Regions from separate parts of the Homo sapiens genome. Here all the other regions are linked to region 2. The links are contacts of gene promoters, found by promoter capture Hi-C in blood cells and fetal thymus (Javierre and others, 2016). All regions are on one chromosome and are shown on one strand. Each heading gives the region's core, a stretch centred on a gene start or on the middle of the fragment in contact. The rest is flanking DNA. Distances are from core to core; before and after follow the strand shown.

What was found. The method cuts DNA at HindIII sites, captures the fragments that hold promoters and counts their contacts. A CHiCAGO score of 5 or more calls a contact.
Region 1: the fragment with the promoter of SPINT3 here is called in contact with the fragment with the promoter of SEMG2 in region 2 in 5 of 17 cell types (M2 macrophages, M0 macrophages, erythroblasts and 2 more); the score reaches 7.8 in M2 macrophages.
Region 3: the fragment with the promoter of WFDC6 here is called in contact with the fragment with the promoter of SEMG2 in region 2 in 3 of 17 cell types (M2 macrophages, erythroblasts and total CD4 T cells); the score reaches 8.2 in M2 macrophages.
Region 4: a contact is called between the fragment with the promoter of WFDC13 here and the fragment with the promoter of SEMG2 in region 2, in 16 of 17 cell types (M2 macrophages, endothelial precursors, M0 macrophages and 13 more). The highest score is 19.6, in M2 macrophages.

The regions. Positions count from the first base shown.
Region 1 is chr20:45,513,812-45,516,990 of GRCh38, reverse strand. SPINT3 (serine peptidase inhibitor, Kunitz type 3) reads left to right here and starts at 1,369. Exons shown (of 2, transcript NM_006652.2): 1 at 1,369-1,458. The coding sequence starts at 1,383. All of the region lies in intron 1 of LOC107987282 (a long non-coding RNA gene), which reads right to left. The HindIII fragment of the contact is 7,076 bases long and covers 1-1,934 here.
Region 2 is chr20:45,219,267-45,222,632 of GRCh38, reverse strand. It overlaps SEMG2 (semenogelin 2), which reads right to left and starts at 1,260. Exons shown (of 3, transcript NM_003008.3): 1 at 1,168-1,260; 2 at 1-924. The coding sequence starts at 1,243. The HindIII fragment of the contact is 11,661 bases long and covers 477-3,366 here.
Region 3 is chr20:45,538,053-45,541,112 of GRCh38, reverse strand. It overlaps WFDC6 (WAP four-disulfide core domain 6), which reads left to right and starts at 1,631. Exons shown (of 3, transcript NM_080827.2): 1 at 1,631-1,796; 2 at 3,019-3,060. The coding sequence starts at 1,706. It overlaps EPPIN-WFDC6 (EPPIN-WFDC6 readthrough), which reads left to right. Exons shown (of 5, transcript NM_001198986.2): 4 at 3,019-3,060. EPPIN (epididymal peptidase inhibitor) reads left to right here. Exons shown (of 4, transcript NM_020398.4): 4 at 1-487. LOC107987282 (a long non-coding RNA gene) reads right to left here. Exons shown (of 4, transcript XR_001754641.3): 3 at 2,434-2,577; 4 at 726-1,038. It also overlaps the pseudogene HSPD1P21. The HindIII fragment of the contact is 26,653 bases long and covers 1-3,060 here.
Region 4 is chr20:45,700,299-45,703,617 of GRCh38, reverse strand. WFDC13 (WAP four-disulfide core domain 13) reads right to left here and starts at 1,580. Exons shown (of 4, transcript NM_172005.2): 1 at 1,407-1,580. The coding sequence starts at 1,494. All of the region lies in intron 2 of WFDC10B (WAP four-disulfide core domain 10B), which reads left to right. The HindIII fragment of the contact is 1,162 bases long and covers 1,291-2,452 here.

The DNA of each region.
Region 1 (3,179 bases), core at 120-2,619, 290 kb before region 2:
ATTGCTAAGAGAGAAAATTTCTCTCTCTCTCTATATATATATACACACATATATTTCAAAACATCATATTGTACCTCATAAATATATAATGTTTCTCAACTTATGATGAGATTATAGCCTAATAAACCTAGCCTAAGTTGAAGATATCAGAAGTTGAAATGCATTTAATACACCTAACCTACCAAACATCATAGCTTAGCCTTACCTACCTTAAACTTGCTCAGAACACTTATACTAGTCTACAGTTGGGCAAAATCATCTAACACAAAGCCCCTTTTATAATGAAGTGTTGAATATCTAATGTAATTTATTGAATACTGTTCTAAAAGTGAACACAGAATGGTTGTATGGGTATTCCAAGTACTGTTTTTACTGACTGTGCATTGTGTTTGCACCATCATAAAGTCAAACACTGTAAGTCAAACCATTGTAAATTGGGGACTGCCTTTATACAATTTTTATTTCTCAATTAAAAATAAATAATAATAAATATATGATAGAATGCTTCTTGAAAAAGAATAGCTGGACCCATCACAACCTCAAATTTTAAATCTGAGGCTCACTAAATCTCCCTAAAGCATGCTGGCTTTGTCTTTCAAAAAAAATGGATCTCTAGAGAGTCAAGGAAAGGAGACAGTTGGAATGTGCTGGATTCTGGGGGTGTGTCTCTAGAGACCATGACCCTCTGAAGCAAACAAAGCTGGGCCCTCCTTCTACATGGTGCTTTTGATATTTCTATTAAAATATAATGAATCTGCTCCTCCTCCAAGTAGGTGACTGTTTCTGACTTCCAATGTGTTTGTGTGTGTTGTTGCCATAATTTCCTGGGAGCACCCAGATGGGATGGAGGCAGCATCTAATACTTTGCCTGGTGCAGTGTGGGTACTTGATGAATGTTTGTTGAATGAATGAGTGATACGAGGGCACTGAAGCAGACAGACCGGGGTCTCAGTCTTGTCTCTGAAACTTGCTGTCCATGTAACAATGGTCAAAGTAGCATAACCTCCTCTCATCTACAAAATGGGAGTGTTAGTGTTGTGGGATTCCCGTGTAGACTTAAGGGAAGCAATGTGTGAAAACTATTTTGCATGGTGCCTGGAAAAGGAAAGGTACTCAAAAATGGCTGCTGTCTTTTTATTATTGTGAAAAAGGCTTCCACCCTGAAGTGGTACTAAAGTAGCCTGGGTGGCCAGATCAGATAAGGCCAGGAGGAGAGAGGTGAAGCTGTGCTTTGGCTGAACACTCTGTTCCTGAGGCAGCCCAGCCCCATGAAAAGCCTGAGTTAAAGGTGAATGAGCTGGATGTGGGGCCAGGCTCCTCCCCTTGGTCCCTTTTCTCCCTAAAATGGCAACCCCAGGCTGAGCCACTGGCTGAGTGGCACCATGCAGCTTCAGGCCTCTCTCTCGTTTCTCCTGATTCTCACTCTCTGCCTAGAGCTTCGATCAGAACTAGCACGAGGTTGGTATGAAATGTGGGATCTCAAAGAATAGACTGGGAATCAGGCTGGGGGGCGGGGTGGTGGGGGAGGTGATGCAGCACAAACAGAGCCCATTTCTTACCTTACCGGATTGAGAGTCAATTCAGTTCAATTCACTTCATCAGACATATGTTGGGCACATAGTTATGTGCCAGGCACTGTCCTAGGTGCTGAGGTTAAAGCAAAGAGCCTGAGACCCTGCCTTTGTGAAATTAAGATGCTAATGGGAGAGAGACATACAATACCTAATACAAATGATAGATGATCAAAGTGCTATAGAAAATGAAATAAGTAAAGCAGGAAAAGGGGCCTTCAATGTCTGGGGTGGGGCTGGTGGCAGGCAAGGAGAGGTTGGGAAAAGGAGATCAGAGCCAGAATTTGAGAGTGAGGGACTTAGCCAAGTTAGATGCACTTGTCAGAAAAGGCTCCTTCCTGGACCACTTTCTCTGTGGAAGCTTGGAATCTGCAAATGGAAGTGGGGAGATGAAGTGCAGTTATAGCTAAGATAATCTGCTGGAAATGGGGATGGTAGGCAGCAGTTTCCAAGATTTTTAAGCAGCCAGTAGGATGCCCTGTATAAAAATGCATATTAGAATACACAAAAGGGTAAGAAAGAAGGTGAAAAATTATCAAAATCTTACCCTCTGGAGATTATCACTGTCAATGTGCCAGTGAACATTCTTGCATGTGCAAGCATAGTTCTCTGCATGTATGTACATGGAGCTATTAATGATAGATTCTTAGACATAAATGGAACTCTAAACCTCCCAATAACCTTATAGATGAGTGGTTCTCGAGTTTGTCCCCTAGTCTGACAGCAATAGCAGCAGCAGTATCAACTGGAAACATGCTAGTTCCCAGTCCCACCTGATCAGAAACTGTGGAGGTGGGTCTCTCTAACAAGCCTTCTAGATGATTCTGACGCATACTCAAGTTTGAAAATGTCTGCCATAAGTAAGAAGAATGTAGTGGTTTACAGTATGAGCATTCCTGGAGTCAGACACACCTGGGTTCTGGTCCAGGCTCCTCTACTTACAAACTCTGTGCCTCAGGAACATCATTTATAGCCTCTCTGAGCATCAGTTTCTTCTTCTATAAAAAAAGATTAACCATCTTTTCTGCTTTATTAATCAAATAGTCTGATGTATGTCAAGCTCTCAGTATAACTTAGCTCTTAATAGATTCTTGTAAAGCACTTAGAACAGCTTCTGTCACACTCAAAACACACACACAGGGTGTCATTATCTACTTTACATAAAAAAGAAGCAAGTCAAGTGATTTTCCTTTGGTTTAATGGAATGGAAGAGCAGAGAAGCAAGACTGAGAAAACTAAGAGCAGATGGGACTCCAGCCCCTACAGAGTCACCTGTAAGGGTCTAAGGGCCGATGATGCAGTGACTAGGATGTCTTAAGAACATGCCCCTCCACCTCCCACCTGGATTGAATAAGCTATTCTGCCTCTTCCCCATTCTCCTGCACCCTTAGCGTCAGCCTTGCAGGTAGGAGGATAAGACAGAGTCTGAACCTTTCCAAGCCCTAGGCTGCTGCCTGAAGTTCCACCATAGGTGTGATCATTCATCTGTGCATTCACTCATTTTACAACAACCAAGATGGATGGAGAACCTGCAAGCCTTTGCAGTCGAACCATGCTGGGTTTGATTCTTGGTCCTACTGCTTCCTAGCCTGACATTAGGACAGGTAC
Region 2 (3,366 bases), core at 11-2,510:
TATGAATTGTTACCTGGTTTTGAGACTTGCCATGTATTTTCTCTTCAGTTTGGATAGAAATGCTGCCTTTGGATACATCTTTCTGTACACTCTTTTCTCCATGGTGAAGTTGTCTTTCTTCTGTACGTGAAGACGGGTATGATATTTTATGTGCCTTCCGGCCATGCTCTTGATCTTGACTGAGATTTTTTGTCTGGTGTTGATTCTTGTTATATACTAGGAGCTCATCTTGGGTAGTAAAAATGTCTTTGGGTCCATGTTGGAGTCTGTCTTGATGTGCAGGATGGAGTGAAGTTTGTAGTTTACTTGAATGTTCCTCTCTCACGTCAACCACATTTTGGTAATGCCCTTTATTTTGATGAGAATTTTTAGTCTCACGTTGTTGTTTGTTAACTACTAGTTCTTCAGTTTGGAGAACATAACTGCTTTGGGATCCACCTTGTGTTCTACCTTTTTGTGCACCAGAGGCTGAAGCTTGTTCTTTACTTAGTCCATGAACCCATAGCCTTTTTTCTGTGTTTGAACATTGACTGGATAATCCCTTTCCAGATGGGCTATTCCCCTGATCTTGAGAAGGATTTTGTGTCCCATGATGAGCTTGGCCTCCTTTATGATGTATAACTATCATGTGAAAATGACCTTTTGATTTATCATGGTCTCTGCCTTCTTGTTTATAATTGAGCAGTTGTTGACTTCCACCTAGGTGTTGTTTTGATTTTGTCGCCTTATGTAGGGCATTCAAATCATATTGCTGACTTTTTCGGGTCCAGTCATGATCATTGATGTCTACATGATATGTGTGTTGAATAGAAAAACTGCCTTTGGATTTAGTATGTTGTTGGTCTTTTTGTCCAAAATAGTGCTGGCCCTTTTGTCCATGTGGAAATTGGGAAGATCCGCTTGGCAATTGGCCTTTTGATCCACCTGGTAATTGATAATAGAAATGTATGCATTCATTATCTCCAAAGCTCTCTTGCAACTCTTACCTCCCACCTTTTCCCAACAAATTTCTGATATTTCCAAAAGCCTACAGCGTTGGGTGGAGAAAAATCAATTCTCATCAAGGAGAAGAATCTGTGCCTGAACAGGTTACTGTTTGCACCCTGAATATCCTTAGAGGCCATTTTTTTAAAGTAGCTTTCCCCAAGGCTTACCCTCTCCACTCACCTTTTTGTCCCATCACAGCTGCTTGCTTCTCCAAGATAAGGAGCAGGGAAAGGACAAAGAGGATGATGGACTTCATCTTGCTTGAAAAATCTTGTCTGAGAACTGAGCGGATCTCTTCATTTATATGTTCCTTGAGTGGGTGTGCTATGGGTGGAGCTGAAATGTCAAAAGGCACTGCCCTTTCATAGCTTATTAGTAAATGCCAGCTTCCTCACCCCTGCTCAGTGGGGGATAATGTCAAAGTCCCCAGGGACTTAGCATGGGGACATAATATCAAAGGCAATTTTTTTTACTTTCAGAATCCCCAGCAAAATTTTATCGGTCTTTGTATATCATCATGCCAGATCGCTTGCATTATACAGAAGAAATTCAGTCCGGAGTAGGAAGGAGACTAGCTTCAGGTTACAAAAGTAATTGGTGGCTGACAATGCCTTCATACTCTAAATGCGAGTTTCCTTTCTGATCCAATAACTTAAATACTAAATTTTAGGTATAACTCTATACTTTGTCTTGTTTTAAAGTAATCCTGAGACACATTCTGTTTTACTCGAGAAGGAGCAGTCATAGAAGTAGAATGATACAGAAGAGAAAGAAACTTCATGGAAGCCAAAGAAAAAAATTTCAACAAATAAATGAGGCATACCAATGTCAAATGTATCTGTGAAGTTCATCACAAAAAAGACTAACATGTGTCAAAAACTTTCTGATGTTACTCACTGCTAGTAATGTTAACGAGAGATGAATACAGTTGTGTTGGGTTGTCAGTTGAAGGATGGAGTCCAGCTGAAACCATCTCAAGAAGTCTGATTTCATGGTGGAATGAGAGGTGAGGCTGTATCTGGAGGGTGAGGTAAGCTCCAGAGATTTTTTGAAAGGATGAGAAAAATTTAACATGTTTTTATGATGATAGGAACAACTGTTGGAAAAAGAAGTAAGAATGTTGGTTTCCAAATTGGATTATTTGATGATATTTACCTAAACAAAAATGTATTTACCAAAATACATTTTTTAAATAAAAGCATTTCATACTTCTGTAATAAACTGCTGAACCCTCCAACAGGCTGTGAGGAATATTTGCCAACTTCAGTTCATTAAATAATGTATTGAGAGTGGACCTAAAGCTAAAATTTTTACCTTGGGTGGAAGCATAGGGTTTTTTTGCTTTTGTTTTGTTTTGTTGTGTTGTGTTGTTTTGTTTTGTTTTTTTGCAATTGTGAAAACTTCTTGAAAAATCCAAGGAAGGTTTTTTGTTTGTTTGTTTGTTTGTTTTGTTTTTTTTGTTTGTTTGTTTTTGAGACAGAGTCTCGCTCTGTCGCCCAGGCTGGAGTGCAGTGGCACCATCTCGGCTCACTGCAAGCTGTGCCTCCCAGGTTCATGCCATTCTCCTGCCTCAGCTTCCCAAGTAGCTGGGACTACAGGTGCCTGCCACCACGCCCGGCTAATTTTTTGTATTTTTAGTAGAGACGGGGTTTCACCGTGTTAGCCAGGATGGTCTCAATCTCCTGACCTCGTGATCCGCCCGCCTCAGCCTCCCAAACTGCTGGGATTACAGGCATGAGCCACTGCACCCGGCCAGTTTCTTTACTTTGACTGAAAAAGTCCTTGTTATGAGAAGACAACAGGAGAAGCAGCAACATTTGAACAGTGACCCTGTATGCATTCAGAACACTGTGGAGGGTAGTTCTGGAGAAAGGACGGCTTGGAAACTTATTTTCTATTATTCTCTCTTAAAATCCTAACCTTCCTGTAAGCAATGCTATATGGAAGGGGAGAGGGGAAAGGCCAACCATAGGAAAAAATGCTACTTATGCCATCAAACTTGAAGCATGTGAGCTATGTGGTTTCTCTATGAGCCATTCTGAGATCTTACCAGTTTTATCTGTTTGCCCTAAGGGCAGTAAGTATTTCCTTATGGCAGGGACCCCAAAAGAAAAGAGTAAAGTTTTCCTGAACACAAATTTATTGCTGTACCTGCTAATCACTATAATCTTCCTTACACTTCCCTTAAGGAAATACCAGGAACTGTTGTGTTCCAAGATTACCGGAACAAACAAGAGTCTGAAATATTAATCTTACTTATGGATCAAGAACAAAACTTCCAACTAATCTAGTGTCCAAAAGATACAGATAAAACAAAGGTGCACAAGATTTGCAAAAACAAAGCAGGAAAATGCAAACTAGGCACAACATGTGATTATG
Region 3 (3,060 bases), core at 382-2,881, 320 kb before region 2:
AGGACGTGATCTCATTTCTTTTTATGGCTGCATAGTATTCCATGGCATATATGTACCACATTTTCTTTATCCAGCCTATCGTTGATGGATATTTGGTTTGATTCCATGTTTTTGCTATTGTAAATAGTGCTGCAGTGAACATACACATGCATGTATCTTTATAAAAGAATGATTTATATTCCTTTGAGTGTATACCCAGTAATGGGATTGCTGGGTCAAATGGTATTTCTGGTTCTAGATCTTTCAGGAATTGGCACACTCTCTTCCACAATGGTTGAACCAATTTACATTCCCAACAGTGTAAAAGCATTCATGTTTCTCCACAGCTTTACCAGCATCTGTTGTTTCTGGACTTTTTAATAATCACCATTCTGACTGGCATGAGATGGTATCTCATTGTGGTTTTGATTTGCATTTCTCTGATGATCACTGGTGTTGAGCTTTTTTTCATATGTTTGTTGGCCGCATAAATGTCTTCTTTTGAGAAGTGTCTGTTCATGTCCTTTGCCCACTTTTCAATGGGGTTGTTTGTTTTTTTTCTTGTAAATTTGTTTAAGTTCCTTGTAGATTCTGGATATCAGACCACAAATTTTCTTAATCTGTCTCCAGTGATGGGAAAGCTAAGCTATTTGTCCACTGATTCCCAACGCCCACTGGATGCCAGGGATACTAAATCCCTCGCTCTTTCAAACTGTTATACTTGCAAGCTATACAAGCTCCCTGGGGGCCAGAGAAAACCCACAGCAGAAAATTAGGGACTGATGCTAGAGGTAGGAGGCTGTCAATGTGCATTGGCTATTATTCGGCCATAAAAAGGAATGAACTTCTCACTCACCACTGATGACATGCCTTGCTGCACACACACCCTGCTGCCACCCTGCAGAAATGCTTCCATTACCCACAGTCCTTTGCCAGATGGAACTGATGCCCAGGTAACTGGCTCCTCACCTCCTTCGGGCTTATACCAAGGATATAAAACTTGGTACAGATGCTCAAGCGTTAATGCTTCAGGGTGTGACTTTTAATCCAATGCTGTAGCTGTGACAACAGGGAAAAACGGAGAACAGAGTTGGAGAAGTCCCAAAGTAATGAAAGAAGTTATTTACTGTTGCAAAATCAAACGACTTAAAGGATAAATGTAACTGATCTTTACATACGAAAGAAGAGAGAGGGAAGTGAAGGGCGGGGAGAAAGAGACTCAGACAGACAGAGACTCCCTGAGAAAAAGACAGGCACAGAGTAAAAGACATACAGATGCACAGAAAAGAGAAGAAACAGAGTGAGAAAAATAAAACATAAGAATAGACATGTCAGGAGAAGAGTGAAATTAGAAAGAAGGAAGAGAGCTAGCATACTGTTAACCTGCAAACTCCCCCTGGGAAATGGAAGACTCTGGAGTTAAACCTCCCCTTCTGCTAAGGGAGCCTGGAAAGCCCAAGACAACATGTGCCCTCTTTCCCTGGTAGACCAGAAAGCCTCAGATTGCTGAGGATTAGGAGCCACCTATCCCCCAGTGTAGGTACCAGGTAGTCCCACTGATGGCCTCAGGGATCTGGTGTTCCTGATCGGGGAGTCTGGCTGGCTTGTCTCCAGGGCTGTCTCTTAAGGTGCTGGGCCACACCGGGGCAGGCAAAGTGCAGATGTAGGAGCTGCTGAGGAGCAGTTCTTAGTTTTGGTGCCATCAACCAGGCCAGTACTTCCTAAAATGGGACTCTCAGGACTTCTGCCAATCCTGGTACCATTCATCCTTTTGGGGGACATCCAGGAACCTGGGCACGCTGAAGGCATCCTTGGCAGTAAGTATTGGGAACTCCGTCCTTGCAATGGGGAAAGGAAACTCAGTGGGGAGGAAGGAACAAAGAATAATTTTGCAGCTGAGAAATTATTTTCTCCACCTCTGCCTGGAATTCCAGGTGGGAAAGAGGGGAGCTATTTGAAGTCTCTTGGTAAGAGACTCCCTTGGTGAATACAGGCATCCAAATCTGTGGCAAGTGACTCCTTGCTGCCATTCCAAAGAGTTCTTCCTGGAGGTGCCTGGACCTAGAGCTCATGAAATGAACTAAGAAGGAGTAGTAAGCCCAAGGAAGTCTCCCACAAGAAAAACAGGCTGCTCCCCACAACACCACCTGTGTCAACTTCCAAATGTTCTCATTGCAGCCCCCACACCCATACCCACAGAGGACCCTGGTCTTTGGGTTAAAGAATGGTCTCCAGAAGTCCCTTGGAATGCTGAAATGTGAAGACTCACAATTAGCAGCTAACTGTACTGGGCACTGAAAATTAGTGGTTGAAAGTGAGCACTCAGGAGCCACACATTGTAGGTTCAAACCTGGCTCCACCCCTGAGTAGCTGTGTGATCTTGGGCAAATTCACATAATCTCCTTATGCTTCCAATTCTTCTGTTTACAAAATGTGAATATTAAGAGTACTTACCCATAGATTTGTAATGAGGATTAAGGAGAAAAGGCAGCTCACAGTAAGTGCTTCATCCATATTACTCATTGTTACGTTACATTGCCCCAGGCAGTTTGACGATGGCTTGTCAAACTGTGTTGCTGGTTAGTCTTCAAAGCAACCCTATGGGCAAATGAGGAAATCAAGGCTCAGAGAGAGTGCCTGGCACACCAAGCGTCTCACAGAATTCAAAAGCCCAGCTATCTGATGCCAGAAATGTTAATCTCAATCATCGAGAGCCACAGCACCTCCTGGGGGAGCAACCAAGCACAGCAAGGCTGAGTGACCAGAACAGTCTTAGAGGAATGCGTCTTTCTCTCAGGAATCTCATAGATGGTGCGGGTAGGGGGTAGGGGTTGGTTTAGGCATCCGATGGTGAGTTGTTATGGGGTTGGGGATGTGAGCAGTGTTGTGAAATTCCTGAGCCCCCTGAGGGCCACTACCTTCTGGGGATAGGTGAAGTGGAAACAAAGTTCTCTAACTCTGGAGGGGTGCCCTGGTCTCGGGGAGGGGGAGCACTGGCTCCTTTAAGGCCTTGAGGGAATATATCTTCCCCTCCCTTAGAGCCGTGTCCCAAAATCAAAGTGGAATGCGAAGTGGAAGAAA
Region 4 (3,319 bases), core at 331-2,830, 480 kb before region 2:
GATGGGCCCCATTAATCCCTTTCCCCAAGCCCTTCCAGGTCCTAATTTTTGTACCTTGTGATTCTCCCTTTCTTTGGGGGCAAAAGTCAAAAGTGGGGCATTCTATTGCAAATAGAGGAATTGTGGGTCTATTCCTCTGCAAATATTTGCAATTAGAAGGAAATCTATAGGATATTATGATGATTTGAAAGGAATGAATGAAGAAAGAGGTCATGACTATAACTGTAGTAGCAAATGGCACCAGAATTGGGGTAAAAGAAGCTGAGGTTCAAGCTGTTGACAATTTAACAGAGACCAATAACTAGTACTCACCCCTGGCCTCTCAGCTATTCTATAGCTCACTGGGGCACTGCAAGAAATTGGAACTAATCCACACTTTGAAGAGCTTGGGGCTCAACAGAGCAGTTTAGAGATAGACACCATGATCCAGAGATCTCAGAGAGGTCACCCTTTTCAAGTCTTGACCCCTCTTCTGGGTATCTGGTCCCAACTTCACTCACAGCATTTACCAGTCTTTTAGAAAGCCTCTTTGTGCCTTTCCTCAAATTCTGATTCTCCAATTAACTCTACCCTGGGCACTCCTATTTTCTTGTAGCTTGCTTAGTCCCTCTTAGTCCTACAAACCTGCATGCCTTTTCTGAAACTTCTTAAGCAGGACCTAGCCTCCCCAGACACATGAGCTACCACACTTATCCCTCTTCTGAGCCGCCAGTATTCTGAAGATGTTTTCCCCATAGAAGAGTGGATGTATGATGAATAACAGTTCTTTTCCCACTTGGTATTGGTTAAGGTCAACATTACTAGAGCCAGAGCTCTTTTGAGTTGAGCTGGGCAGTGGTGGCTGCTGAGATGGACTCTACACTGTCCCATTGATGCTAATTACCGGTAATTGTACAGTACCTCTGGAGTTTGAAAATGTGGAATAAAAGGCAAGACTTCCTTTCCCTCCTTCCCAAAACATCCTCCAAGGCCAAGGTTATGTAGATTCTAGCTTGAGTTCTACCAACTTCGTTGTCTCTCTGTTTTATTGCTTGAAAAGTGAGTCCAAGCATCCATGAAGGAGCCACGGGCAGCAAGACTAAGCTGGATGATGAGGCTGATCACATTTACAGCATTTAATATTACTGAGCATTTACCATGGTTTAGTAAGAGTGAGCTATGTCTGCATGCATTATCTGTTCTCCTCCTGTATTCATTATAAGGATAAAAACCTGAGGCCCAGATACTATGCCCAAGGTCACTCAGCAACAGAGCAGGGATTCAAACCTAGATCTTGCCAACAATAAAGCTTGGGCCCTTGAACATGACACGGTATTTTTCCAAGAGGTGTGACAGACTGTCAGCCCTCAGATCCTCTCCTATCCACACATGTTACTTCCCTCCTTGGGCCCAGATCCAGCACCTACTCAGAACACGCTGCTTGGGACTCCCAGGCACCAGCTGCAGTGCTAGGCAGAACACCACCAGGAACTGGAGAGGCAGCACAGGCTTCATGGTGTCAGTGGGATGGGTGAGTAAGTTCTGGCCAAGGGTTGCTGGGTTTGACCAGGCACTGCTGTGAGGAGAAGAGAAGGAAAGAGGGCAAAGTGGAGGCCCAGTGTGACTAGCCTTTCACCGTGTACTCCAATCAAAACCGGCAGGGCAGGAATCCAAGCACCTCCCAATCACACCCACTCCAGGGTCACGTAGTGTTTTCATATCCTCCTTTATTCCCCTAATCTTGACCTTGCTATCTCTTTCATCTGTATCTAGATCTTATTCATGTCCCTTAACATTTTTTTATAATTTTCCCCTGTGGAAATTGTACATGTTATATTTATTCACAGAGGATTGAATTTTTTTTTTTTTTTTTTGAGATGATGGAGTCTGGCTCTGTCACCCAGGCTGGAGTGCAGTGGTGCGATCTCTGCTCACTGCAGCCTCTTCCTCCCAGGTTCAAGCAATTCTTGTGTCTCAGACTCCTGAGTTGCTGGGATTACAGGCGTGTACCACCATGTCCAGCTAATTTTTGTATTTTTAGTAGAGATGGGGTTTCACTGTGTTATCCAGGCTAGTCTTGAACTCCTGACCTCAGGTGATCTGCCCTCCTCAGCCTCTCAAAGTGCTAGGATTACAGGTGTGAGCCACCGCGCCTGGTCTGAGGCTTGAAGTTTTTAAAAGGAAATTGTAAATGTTATCATAACTTTTCAACTAATTCCTTTTGTTTACTGCTAATGTAGAGAAGTTAACTTTCCAGTTTGCTCAAAAATCTCCACCATGACAATTATTTGACCTCACTGAAACCAATAAACATTGACTCTTCACTTCCCTATTTCGTAGTCCTCCCCTATAGGCGTTTACTTTTCTTTCTATCAATGTAGGACTCAGAACCTGTCATTTAAATCTCCTTGCTTGAATCTACCTACAAAAACTGCAACCCTGAATGAATCCAACCATCAATTTCATTGAAGCTTGAACCTAGGCAGATAATTGTTGCTGGGGGAAAATAACTCAACTGGGCTACTAAACAGCACAATAGATGCACCATCACCAAACCAAAAAGGGTCTGGCAATCTTACTAAGTTTCTTCAGTAAGCCAGTGTTCCCACTTTCTACAAATACTATTTCAAACTTGCTTTCCTCTCTTTAAAGCTTGGATCTTTTCTTCTTTCCACAAATTTGTAACTAGTTAGCTTGCTAAATTCTCCCATTGTTTATTATGGTTTCTTTGTGTGTTCTCTTCAGTGTTTATCATAGGCAAATAAGCAGTTATAGTTTTCTTCTTCAAACTTTATGCCATTTTTAATGCCTCACTGTGCTCGCTAGGCCCTTGAGTACATCATATGTAAGTGGTGATAGTGTGTATTTTTGTCTGATACCTGATTTAAAATGAAAACTTCTTGTTTCCCCTTTTAGAATTGTCTCCACTTTAGGTTTCTCATAAGTACCCTCTATCAGGTTTAGAAATTTTTCTTTCATTCCTAACAAGAAATTTTAAATTAGTTTATGTCAGATTATATGTATTGCTTTTTTCTATGTATATTGAGATGATAACATTTTTATATCCTTTAATCTGTTAATGCAGTGAACATTCAGATTTTCAAACATTAAGCCATTTCTATGGTAATATAAGGTGATCATTGAATATTATCATTTTTATATTGTTTGGTTTAGTTTGCTATTTTTAAGGTATTTTACATCTATGTTCATAATGAACTGGGCCTGTAACTTGTCTTTCTCATATTGTCCTTGCTTGGTTTCATAGCAAGTTTATGCTGACTTCATAGGATGTGCTGAGTAGCAGCCCTTCTTTATCAATTCTCTATAAATTCTTGATTTA